Regions from separate parts of the Homo sapiens genome. Here region 2 is linked to region 1. Evidence: promoter capture Hi-C in 16 types of primary human blood cells and fetal thymus (Javierre and others, 2016). All regions are on one chromosome and are shown on one strand. The core of a region is centred on a gene start or on the middle of the fragment in contact, and the rest is flanking DNA. Distances in the headings are between cores, read along the strand shown.

Region 1 (3,734 bases), core at 784-3,283:
GTAATCCCAGGTGGTTCAGAATTGCTTGATTGTTCAGGAAGGTCCTATAGCAGAGCTTACTAACTTTGTTATCCATCTTTCTGTGCCCCGTATTCCAGCTGCCTTCACCATCATTGAAGGAATATATAAGCAATATCCCTGGCATCAAAACACAAAAGGTTGTGTTCCCCAAGGGTTAAAGTGAACCCTCAATCGCCTCACCTCCTCTTCCTAAGTGTGACTTTTCCCCACCCTTCCACCTGACCTTAACCCAATGAAAACTCGAAAGTTGTTGACATCTGTGAGCTTTGATCAAATTAGGGCTAACAGCAGGTTAAAGGAAAAATCAGGTTTTTGAGGGCTGAAAAACACATTGGCCTTTTTCTTCCTTAAAGTTTTCTGAGCCTGGATCCTGGAACCAAGTCCTCCTCCTATTATGTGTTTATTGAATAAATAGACAAATGTATGAGCAGATTTTAAAAAACTGGTTAATTCCTAAGTTCCATGAAGGGCATTAGTAGAAGAAATCTTTTGAGGACCTACATTTTTTTAATCTGCAAATGATGCTCTCGTTGTTGTATGACTGAGAAACTCTCAACACAGAGACACCTCATTTTAACTTAACATGATTGTGCTACAACTGGCTTAGATTATTTTTCCTAATAAATGAAATTCTACAGAAATGACAGTTCCCTGCATTTTCTCCTAATCCATTTATTGGATTGATGTTCCATGAATTTTCAATACTTTACATACATTGAAACAAGAAGGTCAATCGTAACCTCCTTTCACCCCTTCTTGGAGAATTTCCTTCAACCAGAAATCCATCAGTTTGTTTTTTGGTGTGTGCTCAGCCCCTCTTTTGCTCTCTCCCTCCCCAAAGGGAACCCTTTTATAAGCTGAGATGAACCATTTAGATTCTCCCTTTTGAAATGGTCAAGCTGAGAAACCCAAATTGAGTTCTATGATCCTGGCACTGAAGATTCTCGGGCTAAGTCATAACATGCTTTGTGGTCTGTGTTTCAGAGAGATGAATGTAGGTGAGCTGTGTCTGGGGAAGGGAGGAAGGTACCAGGCCAATTACACTAACCACGGAAAGAGGTGAGGAGAGCCACCAGGTACCTGCAGTGGAAATAAATGGAAAAAGCACTTGGTGGAAACTGCACCGAAGAGGGGGTTTGTCGAAACAAAAACAATCAAAGACATAGGAGTTCAATCTGGGTGACTGCTGGGGACACAGATGCCTTTAACAAAGAGATCACAGAAAGCATTGCCCCTTTGAGGGTCTAGATGTTCAGCAGGCAACTCAAAACTGGGAATTCAAACAAGCCTCCCTTTGTGACTTAATATGTTCTTTTAAAAATTGTACTGTATTAACAGTTTGGTAGGAAAGCAATAGAATTACATTGTTAAAGAGTGTTAACATAAAGAAGGAAGAAACTGTAATTCCCCTATTACCGTTTTATGTTTTTTTCCAGTCATTTTCCGGATGTTTAAAAATATGTACTATTAGATTGCTTTTAAAGAAAAATTTTAATTTTGGATAAGCCAACATTTCTGAGTCTAGGGTTTCCAAAACTAAGGCTTTTGGAGGCGTGCTGGGTCAAAAATAGAAGCTCGGTAAATACTTGCTCAGTAGTGGCCTAGAACACTAAATATAAATTAAAAATGTTTTCTTTTTTTGAGGATTTAAATGTTTCCTTAACCTGAAAGCGAAACAGATTTTTGTTTGTTTTGCTGTAACGAGAGAGGAAGGAACAAGAGAGTGACAGGGTGAAGCAACTTCTCCCAGAAACTTTTGGGCGCAAACGCCCTCAAGTCCGGATCATTGGAAAGTAACTCGAAGAGAGGAGAGAACTAGCGCAAGCGTAGCCTCAAGGCGGCCGCAATCACCCCGCCCCGGGGCTGTCTCCGCCCCTGCCCTCTCTCAGTCGCCCCGCCCCGGGGGCTGTCTCCGCCCCAGCCTTCTCTTCGCGTTCCGCGTTCCGGGTTCCGGGGGAAGTGTGTTACGGGGACACTGGCCCGACTACTTTCGTTCCGTCTTCCATCGTTTTCTCTCGTGCAATGGCGTCCGGGCTGGTAAGATTGCTGCAGCAGGGACATCGCTGCCTCCTGGCTCCAGTCGCCCCCAAGCTGGTCCCTCCGGTTCGGGGAGTGAAGAAGGGATTCCGCGCCGCCTTCCGCTTCCAGAAGGAGTTAGAGCGGCAGCGCCTTCTGCGGTGCCCGCCGCCGCCCGTGCGCCGGTAGGAGCCACCTCGGGAAGAGGTCTCAGGGTGGCGGTCGCAGACACTGGGTCTTCTTCCCGCGGCGTCGTGTCTGCGGCTGATGCGCCCCTGGGTTAAGCCTTAGGAAGTTTGCGATGGAGACACCCGTGAGCTGTGGGCGCGGGGCCTGAGGCAAAAAAAATGGATTTGTGCCGCGGGCGGTAGAGCTTCGGGCTGTTCCCGACGTTTTGAAACTACCATTTAGGATTTTGGCTACTGAAAATTGGGAGAAATGGGGCTAACTGGAGGGTCTTCCTTATGTGGACTTGGATGTTGTAGTCCCCGTTTGTAATGCCTGAGAATTCCGATAAGCGGGAAGAAAGCAGCCCACAGCATCGTAAATTAAGGAGAAAAAAAATTAATCTACAACCTGAATTCTGCTGTCTAGAGTAAAAGGAAAAAAAGTTAGCTTTAGATTTTTGCCCTAATTAATGCTGTTCTGGTAACAGGTTTGGCAGAGAGAGACACAGGTTTTTATAGCTTCAAACCAGATCATACTTTACATAATTTAAATTCCTTCATCTTGCTTTTTCTCTTTAATAATGTGTGTTTGACATGTTGTCATGGTATTACAAAGATATGTACCTCACTCTTTTTTATGGCTCTGTATATATGGGCCTATGAGCTCCATATTATTGCCATTAAAACCTATGTAACAGCGCGTAAAGGGGACGCATGTGTAGTATGAAATTTTGAAAGCTATTAGTACTTTAACATTGCCCTCCAAAAAATGTTGATCCACTTTGTACTCCTACCAGTAGGAACGGTCTTCTAACAGAGAAGATTATAGCAAAAAATAAAATCTCTTCTTAATTCCCATTCCCTTGTTTATTATAAGATTAAGTATTTTAGGCTCTCAAAGGTGGAAGAAACTTTATGGGTTGGACAGATTATATAGGTGTATATGTTATATGTATATCTTACGACTTTCAACCTAGGTTTTCATACTTTGCTTCCCTTTGTTTCTTAAAGGGGTTTTATATTGTGTTACGTATAAGTAATCCAGAGATGACTTAAAGTATACAGGAGGATGTGCATAGGTTATATGCAGATACAGGTATACCTCATACATATTGTAGGGTTGGTTCTAGACCACGACAATAAAACGAGTCACATGACTTTTTTAGTTTCCCAGTGTATACCTAAGTTATGTTTATACTATTCTGTAGTTTATTAAGTGTACAGTAGTAGTGTCTAAAAAGCAATATATGTACCTTAATTTAAAATACTTTATTGCTAAAAAATGGTAACACAGAGACACAAAGTGAGCACATGCAGAATTGCTACAGACCTTCAGTTTGTAAAAATAAAATGCAATAAATCTGTGAAGCACAATAGACCGAAGTACAGTGAAACGAAGTGTGCCTGTACTACACCATTTATATGAGAGACTTGAGCATCCATGAATTTCAGTATCCAGGAGAGTCCTTGGAACCAATCCCCTACAGATATTGAGGGATGACTGCAAATATAACATACTAGTGTTTATGG
Region 2 (3,734 bases), core at 401-2,900, 550 kb after region 1:
CCAATTTATCCTCCATTCACAGTGAGAAAACTGTTTTTCATTTTCTGATTTATGAGAATTTGGCTTCATAATGGTGAAGTTGGCTCTGCTATATTCTCAACAAGAGCAACATTTTTTCCAAGAGCAGGGCCTACCACAATTAGGATATTTTGCCACCAGGTTTCTAGCGGAAGCTCAGAAAAATTAACCCCCCCACCTTTTTTTTCTTAAGACAGGATCTCCCTCTGTAGCCCAGGCTGGAGTGCAGTGGCATCATCTTGGTTCACTGCAGCCTTGACCTCCCCAGCCAGATTCAAATGATCCTCTCACCTCAACCTCCCAAGTGGCTGGGACTAGGCATGTGCCATCATGCCCAGCTAATTTTTGTATTTTTCATAGAGACAGGGTTTCACCAATTTGCCCAGGTTGGTCTTAAACTCCTGAGCTCAAGCGATCCACCTGCTTCAGCCTCCCAAAAATACTGAGATTACAGGCGTTTGCCACCCTGCCTGGACAAAAGCAGGATTTTAAAATTTAATTTAGAATCACAGATAGCTACTGTGTTGTTGGAAACCTAAGGTACTAAATAAAGGAGAACTCTGGTGAGTACTATTATGGTATTCCTTCATTCACGTAAGTGCTCGCCATGATAGGCATACCTGACACCTTTTACATACATCTCCACACAGGTTACAGAGATGCTGTAATTCAGGTATGCCCAACAACCTCTCCATCAAACATTTCCTATCCCCTAAGGTAGGTAAGAAAGCATTCATTCAATACCTAAACAGTACATTACATAATTTATCAATACTCATTTTGTTTAAGCAGGGCAAATGCTTTGCATAAAGTCCCAGTCTACCAGAGACCACTTAGAGAAGGGTCATCGAATTAGAACCCGTGGGGCAAATACAGCCTGCCATCTATTTATGTACAGCTCATGAACTAAGGATGGTTTTCACATTTTTAATGGCTGAGGAAAAACTGTAAAGAATGCTATTTAGTGACACATAAAAATTATATGAAATTCAAGTTTCAGGGCCCATAAATAAAGTCTTATAGAAACACAGGATTATTCATTTGTTATTGTCTAGGACTATTTTCTCACTATGACTGCGTGGCTCACAAGCCATTTTATTCAACAACAAAAAAGCTTGCCAACCCCTGACTTGGACCTCAATTTTAGAAAACACAGCAAATATACTAGATGACTTCTGTTTTTTTTTTTTTTTTGGCTTTTACAAAAAAGGTTTAACTGAAGAGTCTTTTAAAAAGGAAGCCTCTCTAGTTTTTTTTGTTTTTTTTTTGTTTTTTTAAATTACATATAACTTTTCAGGGATTTCTCATATATACAAACATTTAACAATTTTAAAACACAAGGTAAGGATTCCACTAGAGATAAACATGGCTCAACTTCCCACCAGCTTTCGTTTTCCTTTCTCTTGTATCCTCCTTCTCTTTATAATTCTCCTTTAAAAAATTTTTTCATTCCCTACATAGCTCATGACCCCAACAGGCAATATGTATTTCTTTTACTAAAAAGAAGTGGATAAAATATTGCTTAGATTTCGTCTAGGAAGCAGGAGAACAAAGTACCATGTTTTTTATTTCCTAATACCATATAAGTGGTAAAGGCAAAGTTTTAAAACAAAGCATCAGAAACTAAGAATAGAGGATATGGTTATTGTTCTTTTAACTTGTAATTTCTTCTAGGATACTTGTCACAATTTTTCTTTTACCCCAGGAAAATAAATAGCTATAAAAAACAAATGTTAGTTATCTCAAAAATGTTCTTTACTTTTATGCACTCCTCCTTCCTCCTTTTCCATTCTGTAACTTCAGTGTTCCCCAAACCAATCTAATTTATCTAAGTATGTCAATATGGAAGACACAAATATTTTTGCATTTTCAGCACCCTGTCACAACTAAATCCCAAAGGAAAGTCTACAAAAATCTTAAGGTGGAAACTTAAGGTTTTAAGAGAATCACAAAACCCCAAGAGAGTATGTAGGACTAAAGAGAGCCCACACCCTTTGGTATACAGGAAGTACAGGAATGAATGAGGAGCTCACTGGGCTCACCAATACTATTACACCTTTTATCTTCTGGATTAAATGTAAAATGAGACTTAAAGACAGGAAATGCTCAATTCATTAGAAATATCTAAAATCTTCGTTAGTAAGACAGAATCAAGCTTGGAAATCCCATTAAAGTTAACAATGGAGACAAATTAACAATACACACCAAAACTTCTTGAAAGCTGATATTATCTGCTTTAATTGTAGGAAAATTTTAAAAATATCGATAAGGCAGAGTAAGGATTTAATTATTTTTCAATCGGTAACACTTACCTTCTGTCTTTCCATTTTTCAACATATGTACTAGCCCAGAATTCTCCATTTCTACTATAGTCTTCATGTGCTTGGAAATGAGTTCCCTTTCAACCACCTTTACAATTGGTTCTTCCGTTGATTTGTCAAGGCAGTGCATCACTCGTTCTATTTCTTCATTAATTCTAGCTTCTACTTTCTTTATATATACTGAAGCACTATTTTCTGCTAAAAATTTCTGGCTTTCCATCTGCCATTTAAAAATATATATATTTTTTAAACATAGAAGAAAAGAGTGTTTTTGCTTTTAGCTGGGTTTCTACAGTGTTTATAATAAATCAGCCTAAATAAAATAAGTACTATTAGCATTTTGTGTAATTTCTCATTACACGAAAGACTGATATAGTCTGAATTATATCCTTTAAAGCCTTTGGTATTTACATAATACTAAATTAAAACATTATCTGTAAGCAATGTTTTTCAAACTGTGCCAATGTACTCCAAAAAATAGCAGAACAAGTATATACACGCCAGTGAGGGTCAAAAGCTTAGAAGCATCTGACTCCAAGATACAGTGGGACATTCTTTTTTGATTTGTTTTAATGTAAAATTATAACCAGAAAGATTCATCATGTTTATCATAAGCTTTGCTGGCATACTGCTGGTTAATTAAGTCTTCCAGTGCCATCCCACTCCCAGTCTCAAAGAGTAAACATGTACACTAAAGTTTGAAAATAAGAGCTTTTAAATAACTATTCATCTTTTTTTTCTTTTTTTTTTTGAGACAGAGTCTCGCTCTGTCACCCAGGCTAGAGTGCAGTGGCGCGATCTCAGCTCACTGCAAGCTCCACCTCCCGGGTCCACACCATTCTCCTGCCTCAGCCTCCCGAGTAGCTGGGACTACAGGCGCCCGCCACCACGCCCGGCTAATTTTTTTGTATTTTTAGTAGAAATGGGGTTTCACCGTGTTAGCCAGGATGGTCTCAATCTCCTGATATAGTGATCCACTCGTCTCAGCCTCCCAAAGTGCTGGGATTACAGGCGTGAGCCACTGTGCCCGGCCAACACTTTAGCTTCCTACGAATACATCTGTTTTGGCAACACTACAAAATTCCTACTGTTAACTGCTCAGGTAGTTACGGTTTTCAGGAAAAATGCCTTGTTACAGTTACCTTATAACTACTATCTTATGTTTACTAGTACTCAATTATTGTTGTTATCATCATTTCATTACAGATTAGTACCAGTTTAGCTTTACTTTTAGCAATTTAGTTGGTTTGGACCACTGTTGCCAATTTCTATCAATAGTACCATTGGCCTGTAATATTTTAATCAACAACCTTTAGGCAAATATGCACTACAGAATCATCCATATCCTTATGTGTGTTTTACTAGTAATTTAAGTGACTAAAAGCCTGCAGATGA

What was found. The method cuts DNA at HindIII sites, captures the fragments that hold promoters and counts their contacts. A CHiCAGO score of 5 or more calls a contact.
Region 2: a fragment that was not itself captured here is called in contact with the fragment with the promoter of MRPL44 in region 1 in 1 of 17 cell types (erythroblasts); the score reaches 5.7 in erythroblasts.

The regions. Positions count from the first base shown.
Region 1 is chr2:223,955,430-223,959,163 of GRCh38, forward strand. It overlaps MRPL44 (mitochondrial ribosomal protein L44), which reads left to right and starts at 2,034. Exons shown (of 4, transcript NM_022915.5): 1 at 2,034-2,222. The coding sequence starts at 2,044. RefSeq lists a silencer at 1,809-1,878 and an enhancer at 1,949-2,118. The HindIII fragment of the contact is 10,687 bases long and covers 1-3,734 here.
Region 2 is chr2:224,509,024-224,512,757 of GRCh38, forward strand. CUL3 (cullin 3) reads right to left here. Exons shown (of 16, transcript NM_003590.5): 6 at 2,331-2,559. Among named protein-coding and RNA genes, the nearest start is that of CUL3, 74 kb to the right of the region's middle. The HindIII fragment of the contact is 1,041 bases long and covers 1,131-2,171 here.